2 separate regions of the Homo sapiens genome follow, and region 2 is linked to region 1. Evidence: promoter capture Hi-C in human tissues and cell types (Jung and others, 2019). All regions are on one chromosome and are shown on one strand. The core of a region is centred on a gene start or on the middle of the fragment in contact, and the rest is flanking DNA. Distances in the headings are between cores, read along the strand shown. Region 1 holds the start of LOC124904769 (U7 small nuclear RNA). Region 2 holds the start of RPS6KA1 (ribosomal protein S6 kinase A1).

Region 1 (6,137 bases), core at 300-2,799:
GTAATCCCAGCTACTCGGGAGGCTGAGGCAGGAAAATCCCCTGGACCTGGGAGGCAGAGGTTGCAGTGAGCCGAGATCGCACCATTATACTCCAGCCTGGACAACAAGAGCGAAACTCCCTCTTGAAAATAAAAAAAAAAAAAGATGGAAAGTTATCAAATTCTGGCCGGGTGCAGTGGCTCATGCCTGTAATCCCAGCACTTTGTGGGGCCAAGGTGGGAGGATTACTTGAGCCCAGGAATTCAAATGGGCAACATAAGGAGACCCCCCAGTGTCTACAAATATATATATATATATATATATATTTTTTTTTTTTTTTTTTTTTTTTTTTGAGAGGGGTCTTGCTCTGTCTCTCAGACTGGACTTCTGTGGCATGATCTCGGCTCACTGCAGCCTCTGCCTCTTGGGTTCAAGCGATTCTCCCGCCTTAGCCCCAGAGTAGCTGGAACTATTGGCGCGAGCTGCCACACCTGGCTAATTTTTTGTATTTTAAGTAGAGACGGGGTTTCACTATGTTGGCCAGGCTGGTCTCAAACTCCTGGCCTCAAGTGATCTGCTTTCCTCGTCCTCCCGAAGTGCTGGGATTACAGGCATGAACCACTGTGCCCAGCCTACAATTTTTTTTTTTTAATTAGTTGAGTGTGGTGGCATGTGCCTATAGTCCCGGCAATTCAGGAGGCTGAAGTGGGAGGATCACTTGAACCTGGGAGGTCAAGGCTGCAGTGAGCTGTGACATGATCTCTGATCTCACTTCTGCACTTCAGCCTCGGTGATGGAGCAAGACCCTGTCAAAAAAAAAAAAAAAAAAAAAGAAAGAAAGAAAGAAAGAAAGAGAGGAGAGGGGAGGGGAGGGCAGGGGTTGGGTTACCAGGTTCTATTTGTTACCAGACGAACACAAAAAGAAGCTCAATGTAGCTGACAGGTTGGAGAGGTAGGTGAGGCCAGTCCATACAGGGCTTTCTTGGACCTCAAAGGAGTTTGTATTTTATTCTAAATACAGTGAGAAGCCATTAGAGAATGGTAAGTTAACAAAGAGAGAATTGAGAAGATCCTAGAGCCACAATATTTCAAAAGGTTTCTTACTGATGAAGAAACTGATGCTCAGAGAGGTTCGGTGACTTGCCCAAGATTACACAATCCATAAACCGTGGAATTGAGATTTAGTCTCTCACAGCCTCTGATTCAAGGACTCTGTTCTTTCCACTATTATCTAATACTTGCTTGGGCCAAAAGCTTCACAATATTCTTGACTCCTCTCTATTTCTCTTATATTCCTCATCATATCCATCAGCAAATCCTGGCACCTCTACGTCCAAAATATGACCACTTGTCACCACCTGCACTGCTATCACCCTGACCCAAGCCACCATTATTTCTTGCTTTGATTCCTGCAATTGCCTCCTAACTGGTCTCCCTGCTTCAGCTCTTCCACTCCTACCTTCTATTTTCTACACAGCAGCCATAATAATCCTTTAAAAACATAAATCATATTTACAACTATTATGTACCCATAAATTTTTTTAGAGGCTGAGTGTGGTGGCCTGTGCCTGTAACCCCAGTGTTTTGGGAGGCCAAGACAGGAGGATCACCTGAGGCCAGGAGTTTGAGACCAGCCTGGGCAACATAGTGAAACCCGATCTCTTCAAAAAAATTTTAAAATTAGCTGGCATAGTGGTTCACACCTGTAGTCCTAACTACTTAGGAGACTGAGGCAGGAGGATCACTTGAGCCCAGGAGTTCAAGGCTGCAGTGAGCTATGACTGCGCCACTACACTCCAGCCTGGGTGACCCCGTTGTAAAAAAATTAAATAATTTTATGTCATATCATAAAACATAAGTCTTTCCCCTACTAAAAACCCTCCAGTGGCTTCTCATCTCACTCAGAATAAAAAACAGAGAGGTCGAGCACAGTGGCTCACACCTGTAATCCCAGCACTTTGGGAGGCAAAGGCGGGCAGATCACTTGAGCCCAGGAGTTCAAGACCAGCCTGGCCAACATGGTGAAACCCTGTCTCTACTAAAAATATAAAAGTTAGCTGAGTGTGGTGGTGCACACCTGTAATCCCAGCTACTTGGGAGGCTGAGGCAGGAGAATCGCTTGAACCTGGGAGGCGGAGGTTGCAATGAGCCAAGACTGTGCCACTGCACTTCAGCCAGCCTGGGCAAAAGAGCGAGAGTCTGTCTAAAACAAAACAAAACAAAATAAACAAAGACCCCACAATGATTTACAAGGCCTTACAAGTCTGTCCCCTCCACTCCCACTTTCCTGACCTCTCTTACATCTTTCCCTTGGCTTATTCTATTTAGCTACAATTGGTCTCCTTCAACAAGGAAACTCCTGTGTCAGGACCTGTGCATTTGCTGTGCCCTCTGCCTGGCAAGCTCCTCCCCCTCATATTTATATGGCTTGTTCTCCCTCTTCTTTTATGTCTCAGCTCAAATCACCTCATCAGTGAGTTCTTTCTGTCTACCCTTTGTAAACTAAAAAAACTCTGTCCAGCCGGGCGCGGTGGCTCACACCTGTAATCCCAACACTTTGGGAGGCCGAGGCGGGCAGATCACAAGGTCAGGAGATCGAGACCATCCTGGACAACATGGTGAAACCCCATCTGTACTAAAAATACAAAAAATTAGCTGGGCATGGTGGCGCGTGCCTGTAATCCCAGCTACTCAGGAGGCTGAGGCAGGAGAATTGCTTGAACCAGGGAGTCGGAGGTTGCATTGAGCTGAGATCACACCATTGCCCTCCAGCCTGGCAAGAGAGTGAGACTCCATCTCAAAAAAAAAAAAAAAAAAAAGACTCTGCTCAAACCATAATTTCTATCTCCCTTAACACTGCTTTATGATTCTCAATACCCTCATTATCATTTAATACACTATAGGTCTACTTACTTATTATTTTGATCCTTCCCATTAGAATGTAAGTTGCATGAGAATAAGAACTTTATTTTATTTTCTGTTCTTAGAACACTGTTTTCAGCTCTGATAACACTGCCTGGCACATAGTAGGTGAATAGAGGCAGTTGACTAAAGAATAGGACCGATGTTTTCAATGACTGAATTAACAGAAAGACAAAGTCATTCTTCTGAGGATGGGAAAGCATGTTGTAAACTAGGAAATGATATAAAAAGTTTATTTCTTCCAGTTGGTTCTTGATTTCTAAGTCTTATGATCCTCTTTGAAAACCTTTACTAAATAGAGTAGACTCAAATGATCTTGGATGCAATGCTGACTCTTGGTAGGCCACCAAATACATAACTGGGTGTCAGGAAATGCGGTCTTGCCATCTTTCTCAGGCTCACTGCCATAGCTAGCAAGGACCTCTTGCTCCTTTCTTAGGTATCCTTGCATGCCTTTGGCTTTTCAGAATTTTTTATTCTGGGGAATGGGAGTGATGGTTGATGCCCTGTCTGTAGTTGAGATTCTGTACAGGGAAAGTCATTCAGTTAAATCAAGCAGTATTGAATTCCTAATTGACACAAATGAGACAGACAGACAGCTGGAGGAGTGGGGGAGGGACAGAGAGCAGGTGCCCTGAATAATGGACAAAGAAGAGAGGCAGAATATAAATTGAAGCTAATGGTGAAGAAGCTCACTGTGAGTCTAGATTTTGTGCCACAAGAAAAGTAAACTTTGCCACAGCTTACTTTACGTAGAGCGGAAAGGATCCAGTGGTGTTTTTGCCAAGGATAAGGCAACAAGTTCCAAATGCTTGTGCCATTTTGGCTGCCCTGATGGCCAAGTTTGCCTCTTTTCAGGTACCATCATTTGTGAGAATCACTCTTAGTAAAGTCCTCATTCTGTGTTTTTTTCCAAAACAAACTTAATCACGTAGTGTTTGAACGAAAGAAACTGCTTTGAAAATTCTATTTGTCAAACAAAGGGATTCTTAACACGTAAGTTAGGAAGGTGAAGGGAAGGATGTTTCTAGATCTTCAAATGCCAGACATAGGGGGCATTCCTGCAGAGAAGGCATGTATCTTGTCAACTCCAGAATTTCCTCTGAGAATGCTGGGGGCTTTTTTCCTCTCAGTCCCCTCTTGATCAGAGCTTTGACTCCCCAGCTCAGACAGTTCTTTTCTGTAGCCATGGGAATTGCTCCCATAATTAGCAGTGTCTCCTGCCTGGAACTCAGACAAGTAAATGTTCAAACCTGGCAGCCGATCCTGGGAAGGAGAGCTGATTAAATCTTTCCTGTCGAGAGGCACCTTTTTGATTTGAATGTGACACCTACATCCCCCACCTCAGGTTTGTCTGGGGGAAGCAGTTTTGCCCATATCTTCATAACTGAAGATCCTGGTATTTTAAAGACACATTTAATCTTAAAAGGAGCCCATTGGTTTCCCAAGTTAAGTAACTTAGGAAAAAGCCTAGGCTTTTTTCCTCTCCTGGCCCCTTCTCCACTAAACACCACCCTGTGTTTGGTATGATGAAAGCTCCTGCTACACAGGTATCATCAAATGCCAGAGGCCTTGAGAAATAAAACGAGTTCAGAACACCACTAAGTACACATAAGTATTAACTACAAATGGAGGAGTGAAAGAGCAGGCAAACTATTTCTTTAGAAGTTTTAGTAAGACGGGCTGGAACCATCAAGCCCCAAAGTGAATACTCTTGGTGATATTCCGTTCCAGGAAAGCTTTCTACAGGCGGAGGTGTATTCTTATCTGGATGTAGCTGGATTATGTACTACCATTCAAACACTTTTGGGAGAGACAATATCCATTTTCCTACTGACATCAAGGCAGCCTTTTAAGTTTATCCAGATTTATTTTGGTTAGTGCAATAAAAAAGCAAGGTTGGAGAATTATGTTTAACAAAAATAAAGTCATTGTATGCTTAAAGTTTCCCACTGAAAGCTGCTTTTAAAGCAGTTTGCTGCTGCTCAGCTCCAGTCACCTCAGCAATACTTGCATTCAGTCAGATTGGCTGTGAACAAAGCAAATTTACTTCACACACAACAGCCCTAAACCTCCACTCTCAGGACAGAAGTCTTCCTTAGCAATGTTTTCTACATGGCTCTGGTTAAGGGCCATTCACTTACCTCTAACCTCTTTCTCCTGGGAGACAAAGGCACCTTTGGGCTGAAGTGACACAGGAGAGTTAGAATCAGATTTGTTATCGACATTGCAGCCTTCAGTTTCAGTAAGAGGCTAAATCTGTCTATTCCAACTACAGGAAGGCAATCTTTATAACCCCTGGAGCACTTGGCCAATTATGCACCTGCAAATATACCATACAGGACATTTCAGGTTCCTAGGCACTTTGAAAACCGATACTTAAACAGACTCAAGGGATGCTATCACCCACCTCGAATAATAGCTGCTTTGGAATCTGTTATTGGCACCAGAAAAAGAAAGAGTCCTCTGAAGTCATTCTAAAGCCATTTTTATTGTGCATTTTCAAACAAAGAACCTCACCAAAAGAACTTCTGTTACAAAATCAGGGTAGAAAGTCAAACTCATCTCATCTAAGAGTCAATTACCCTGGCAATTTTGTGAGGCGATGGGAAATGAGCGTTAGAGGAGAGGACTGTGGGGAGGAGGTGGGATTGGCTTTTAAAATCCCCTGGGTGAGAAGGGTGTTCCCACTGACTCTAAACCCTAACAATTGCAACAGAAGGGCCTCTGTGACTTTCTGGCTATAAACTTTTTATGATTATTAACTGAGGAAACCTAGAATATGTGGAATTTTAACAGTTGGCTTTCAACCTCCATTTGCTCCTTTCTCAGAAACTTGGTTTTGCACAGTGTAATAATCTAAGGCTCAGAATTTATGTTAGTTACCTTGCTGTTCCTTGATAAAAAGCTACCTTCTTACATATCTTACTTCCAATAAAGAGGCAGATTCCCTATGTACTGTTTATCTCGGGAAAGAAATACATGTGGGAAAAGAAGCAATTTTCTTCTCATTGCAATTAAATTAAATCATGACCACCTGTTGTGGGATTATCCTGCCATCTGCTGTTCAAAAGAGAAACAACAGCAGAGAACCAGAAAGAAGAGGCAAAATGTTGGAAAGCTTTGCTCCCAGATGTCCATCAGTTGATTACGGTTATTGGTATAGTTAAAATTTTCAGTGTTACACCTCTTTTAGAATTTATCTATCAGGTTTTCCAGTGTTCACTGAAATTTGT
Region 2 (5,753 bases), core at 2,774-5,273, 77 kb after region 1:
CTAATCCTAGCTCTGCCAGCCACTTATTCTGCCCTTGGGTCTGTCATATCACTTTTTATTTTTATTTTTATTTATTTTTTGAGACAGTTTCACTCTTTTGCCCAGGCTGGAGTGCAGCGGCGCAATCTCAGCTCACTGCAACCTCTGCCCCGCTGGGTTCAAGCAATTCTTCTGCCTCAGCCTCCCAAGTAGCTGGGAATATAGGCCGCACCACCACACCTGGCTAATTTTTGTATTTTTAGTAGAGGCGGGGTTTCGCCATGTTGGCCCAGCTGGTCTCAAACTCCTGACCTCAGGTGATCCACCCGCCTCAGGCTCCCAAAGTGCTAGGATTACAGTCATGAGCCACCACGCGTGGCCTCATATCACTTTTTGAAGTCTCAGTTTCGGCCAGGCGCAGTGGCTCATGTCTGTAATCCCAGCACTTTGGGAGGCTGAGGCCAAGAGGCCTCACAGATCACGAGGATCACGAGGTCAAGAGATCGAGACCATCCTGGTCAACATGGTGAAAACCTGACTCTACTAAAAATACAAAAATTAGCTGGGCATGGTGACACGGGCCTGTAGTCCCAGCTACTCAGGAGGCTGAAGCAGGAGAATCACTTGAACCCGGGAGGTGGAGGTTGCAGTGAGCCGAGATCACGCCACTGCACTCCAGCCTGGTGACAGAGCAAGACTATGTCTCAAAAAATAATAATAGTAATAAAGTCTCAGTTTCCTCATCTGTATCACGAGGGCAGGTGTGTCTTGCTGACATCTGCACTTTGTTGTCTGAAATAGTACTTATCACCTAAGTGCTAAATAAATGACTGAATGGGGACAATGGTGCTGACCTTGCAGAGTACTGAATGAAGGACTTTGTCTTAGGAGTCCTTTGGCCTCTTAGAGGTTGAAGACCCACACTCCTCCCTCTTCCTCAGAGAGCACTGCTCATGAGGACAGATGCCCAGGGCCCCAGACCACTGCCCCCAGTTCTGAGATGTCAGAAATGGGTTCCAACTGGCATCATTCCTTCCCACCCAAGCAACTCTGTCTTAGAAAGAGGGGCCCAGGGCAGCGTCTGGAGAAGCTGGGCAGCAGATGGAGAAGGACAGCACGTGCCCCACAGGCAGGAAGCAGCCCCAGGAGCTGGGTTCTGAGCCCAGCATTGGCAGCCCTGCTCACTGCTGGAGGCTGGGGGCCAGGTGCCAGGGCTGGCTGGCACTGCCAGCCCTCGGCAAAGACTGGACGAGGGCCTTGCAGGATAAGGAGAGTCCGCCAACATCCGGAGCCTCTCTTGGAGCACCTTCCACCTGGGCTAGTGTGGCTCCAGCCCTTCCCCATCCCTGAGCCTCTCTCCCACTTGGTGGAAGAGAGAGATCTTGGTTCCAATCCTGGCTCTGATATTAACACATAAGCCTGAGTTTTCAGTTGTCCCATCTGAAAACAGGGGTAATAATCCCTATCTTGAGAAGCTGTTGTGAGAATTAAAGTGGGGTGACATTCGTAAGGCAGAGTGGGTGGCACATAGTAAAGCTCTGTACGTGGCAGAACTGGGCCTGGGGACAAGGCTACTGCTTTCAACAGGGCTAAGCGAGGCCCAGGCAGAATCCTCACCCACGCTTCCCATAGATTACTCCACCTGGGCTGCACCCTGGGCCAGGCCCTGCCTCCCAGCGGCCCATTTTCAGCAGCATTAAGGGAGGGCAGGGCAGTCCAGATCCTAGGTCCCTGTGAAAAGTCCCCCACCAGCCCCTCACCTGCCTCCTTCCTGGCTAGGAGCTGCCAGCAGTGGTGGTGCCTGTACGTGCAGGTCAGGCGGCTGTATCGCTTACATGTCACCTGGGCTAAGAACAGCGAGGCCCTGTTCTCCAGTGAGAACAGCCCAACCTGCGCCGTGGCTGCCCTGTGGCTCCTGTTACCCAAACAATAACACCCAGTCGCCTGGCACCTCCAGGAGTGGGGGAGGGGGGACCAGACAACAGTACCCAGCGCTCTGCACCCTCTCAGGCCCAGGAAGTGGAGGCTAGAACCTAGCACTTGCCACTGGAGAAGCAGAGGCCCAGACAGGCTGAGGACTGACTGAGGATCACACATCGTTTCTGGAGCGAAGCTCCTGAGGAAATTGCGTCCCCCTGCCCCACCAATCCCAGGAAGTCCGCTGGTCTTCCCCTCTCACAGACCTGAGATGTTACAGAACTCAAAACTGAGATGAGTTTCCCAGTTAAACCTGGCTCCCTGGTGAAGCTGGCCCCTGCCTCAGGATTCCCTAAAGAGAAGCAGGAAGTGGTGCCCCAGGATCGAGCTCCTGGGTGTCCACCCTCCCTATCAGCATAAAGTCACTCCCCAGCCTCTCCCAGCCCTACCTTCTCCTTTGGAGGCCTGGTCCCAGGGGCGTGCCTGGGCAAAGGAATCCACCTCTGAGCACCACCCCCAGGACCTTGCGCCCCGGTCCTAGTAGCGGGGTGGCAGTACAGGGGCTGCAGAGGGCAGTGTTCCTCACCTCAGAGGGTGAGTCAGCGAGAGAACCTCTGAGCAGCCTAGCAGTGCCTGTAAAATCCCCATGGCAGGAATCCCAGAGCAATTTACTCCAAATTGCTCCTTCAGGTTGGTTACCTAATCCTGCCGCGCCCACCCTCCAATAGCCAGTGTCGGCCATCCCTTTAAAGGGGCAGCACACCCTGGGGGCTGGGGACCCTGGGTGCTCACCCTGATCTAAGCCTGTGGTCCTGAGAGGCAGGACACTTGGTGGCTGCCCTAGGTAAGAGAGGGCAGAGGAGGGGACTGAGACAGGGGCTCCAGGCCCAAGCTGGGAGAAAGTCATCTCAGCTCCTGGGCTCAAATGAGGTCTCCATTCCCTCCCTGCATACCCCCAACAACCACCTGGGAAGGAGAATATCACCTGCTTCCTTCCCAGCAAGAGGTTAAGGAGGAAGTTTTCCACCAGCTCATTCAGGGGCTTGACCTTGACCCTGGGGTCAAAAGGCACAGGAAGAGGTGGCCTTCTGCACGCTTAGGGACTGGAGCCACAGAGCCCTCAAGGGAGGTCAGGAGCTGCTTCTGAGAGAGAAGGAGCTGGGTTGTCTGGGGAGTCTGGGCTGGCAGAAGCCAAACTCCCCAAGGGCCCAGCCCTTCCTACCGGAAGGGGCATAAGAAGGGAGGCAGGCACCAAGGTCCCCCCACGCCCTGCCAGGAATCATCTTCACAAGGTCTAAGGGCTCTTCCCCACTCTCGTCTCCACAGCCTGGGGTAGGGCACACAGGTGTCCTCTGGCCCTAGCCTCAGGGCAAAGAAAACCAGGAGTTCCAGCCCCAGACGGGTGGTGCCATCCCACACTCCGCATCCGCCAGGGGTCAAGAGGAGCAATCCTTCTAGGCTCAGCAGCGGTGAAGCCAGAAGCAGGGAGCTCTTGGCGGAGGGCCCTGGGAGAAGTGGGGGTCCCATAACCCCTGTCTCTGGTAGAATCCCAGACATCTGGCACTGAAGATCTCCCCGTCTGCATTAATGGAGGAAGCTCCGACAGCTCTGGACAGATGCCGGGACGGGTCCTAGGTGTGGGGTGAAGGCGACCAGATCTCAGCGCCCCATAGGATCCCCTCTCCTGGCTATGGCGGGGAGGTAGTCGGCGCTTGGCGGAACTGTCCCTCGCACACGCACACCCGGGCATAGGGGGGTGGAGCCGGACAGTGGGCAAGAGATCGGAGGGCACTCGCGCCCTCGCGGGCGCCCGCCGGACTGCAGCGGCGCTTCGGGCCGCCCCGCCCCTGTGAGGATCCGGGCTCGCCGGCCGCGGGCGCCCGTCCCCCGCCCCGCTCACTCACCTCCGGGTCCAGAGGCACTAGCTCCATGAGCGGCCAGGGCTCCTTGAGCTGGGCGAGCGGCATCTCGCCGCCGCCAGGTCACCCGCGCTCCTCCGGCGGCCCCGGCTGCGCCGCCTCCCGGGTCCTGGGGTCCCTGGCTCTGCGACCCGAACCGCCGCGCCCCCCCGAGCCCCTCGCGCTCCGGCTGGGCCGTCCGCCGCCGCCGCCGCGGCACTAGCACTTCGGCTCCCTCCGTCACCCGGCGCCGCCGCGCCCATTGGCTACCTGCGCGGGGGCGGAGCCGGAGAAGCCCCGCCCCAGCCCCCGCGGCGCGGCATTCCCAGCGCGGACCCCCGCCCCCGCCGCGCCCCGAGGGCCGGCCCCGCCCCTGCCGCGAGCCCCCGGCCCGCGCTCGGCTCCGCCGGAGAGGCCCTGCTGGCTCCTTCCCTTCCAGTGGTGTACCCCTGGACACACCACACCAGGGCCACCGTTCTCCCCCGCTCAGCTCTTTTGGAATCCCAGCCCAGATGTTCCTTCTCCTTCCAACGGGAGAGAAGCACCTTATCCCCGACCCCAGCACACACATTCACACTGGGTTCCTGGGCCTGATCTAGGCTGAGGCTTGGAAGGAGCCTGAGACCCACTCCCCTTAGGCCCTCAACTCACCAGGCCCTAGAGATCCCCTATCCTCTAATTTCTACCCCGCCCTGAAGCTAACACTGTGATCTCCGGGCGATCTCAGTGCCCCAGGCCAAGATGGGCATCAGCAGTTGTTACCACCATCAGGACCCATAGTGCCACCACAGAGTGATTGATTGATCGATTGATTTTACATAATGTATATAAATATTACATATATAAATAAATATGTATAAATAAATATTATATATATGCACATATATGTATGTATGTGTGTATATAGTGAGAGAGAGAGAGACACGAAGTTTCGCTTTGTTACCTAGGCTGGTCTCTGACTCCCCGGCTCAAGTGATCCTCCTGCCTCGGCCTCCCAAAGTGCTGGGATTACAGGCATGAGCCACCGCGCCCGGCCAAGAGTGATTTCTTAATATGCGTTTTTGCAATCTGTGCTCTGCCCTATCACTTGAAGGGGGTCCTTTCAGGTCAGGTCTCCCTGGAGTCACCTGCAGCCCCAGCTCTGGACTAGTTTGGGTTTGCGACTCTCTGAGGAGGGACCAGGCTCCCAGGATGAACCGAGGCTTGGTGGGACTTGGAGTGAAAGGCCAGGGAGACTGGTTGCCCCAGAGAGATTCAGCCTCCACCTAAAGAGCCTTAGGGGTCCGGGTGTGCTGAGATGTATTCACATGTGAGGAGTGAGCTTGCTGGAGGGACAAGCTTGCTGGTTTCGCAGGAAGACTGGTCAGTTATTTGCAAAGCTGTTCTAAGGCAGGGGAATGGGAAGGAATGTTTATCAAAAGCTTCCTGCGAGCCATGTGATTTCCTTGAATGATTACCACCACCTAGTTTACAAATCCTGAAACAAGCTCGGAAAGATGAAGTGACTTACCCAAGGTCACACAAGAGGTTGAGAACAGACTAGGGCTTAAAAAAATCAAAGTGTCACACCTGTAATCCCAGCACTGGGAGGCCGAGGCGGGCGGATCACGAGGTCAGGAGATTGAAACCATCCTGGCTAACATGATGAAACCCTGTCTCTACTAAAAATACAAAAAATTAGTAGGGCGTGGTGGCAGGCACCTGTAGTCCCAGCTACTCGGGAGGCTTAGGCAGGAGAATGGTGTGAACCCGGGAGGCGGAGCTTGCAGTAAGCGGAGATAGCCCCCACTGCACTCCAGCCTGGGCGACAGAGACTCCATCTCAAAAAAAAAAAAATCAAAGTGGATAAGGATTTCTCCAGAATCCACGTGCTCCCCCTTTTCCATGGCTTTCCCAGGGTAGGACCTCAGCTGTTGAACTGAATTTTGAGTGAAAGGACTTTGGAACCCAACAATTCTG

Evidence for each region. Contacts are between HindIII fragments. The study calls those that stand out against the background at their distance.
Region 2: the fragment with the promoter of RPS6KA1 here is called in contact with a fragment that was not itself captured in region 1 in 2 of the 25 tissues and cell types used here (hippocampus and thymus).

Annotation. Positions count from the first base shown.
Region 1 is chr1:26,602,373-26,608,509 of GRCh38, reverse strand. LOC124904769 (U7 small nuclear RNA) reads left to right here and starts at 6,078; the gene lies at 6,078-6,137. The HindIII fragment of the contact is 7,565 bases long and covers 1-5,331 here.
Region 2 is chr1:26,528,031-26,533,783 of GRCh38, reverse strand. RPS6KA1 (ribosomal protein S6 kinase A1) reads right to left here and starts at 4,023. Exons shown (of 22, transcript NM_002953.4): 1 at 3,801-4,023. The coding sequence starts at 3,863. LOC124903884 (a long non-coding RNA gene) reads left to right here and starts at 2,386. Exons shown (of 2, transcript XR_007065558.1): 1 at 2,386-2,586; 2 at 3,223-4,664. RefSeq lists enhancers at 1,595-2,506, 2,507-3,417 and a silencer at 3,659-4,138. The HindIII fragment of the contact is 11,905 bases long and covers 1-5,753 here.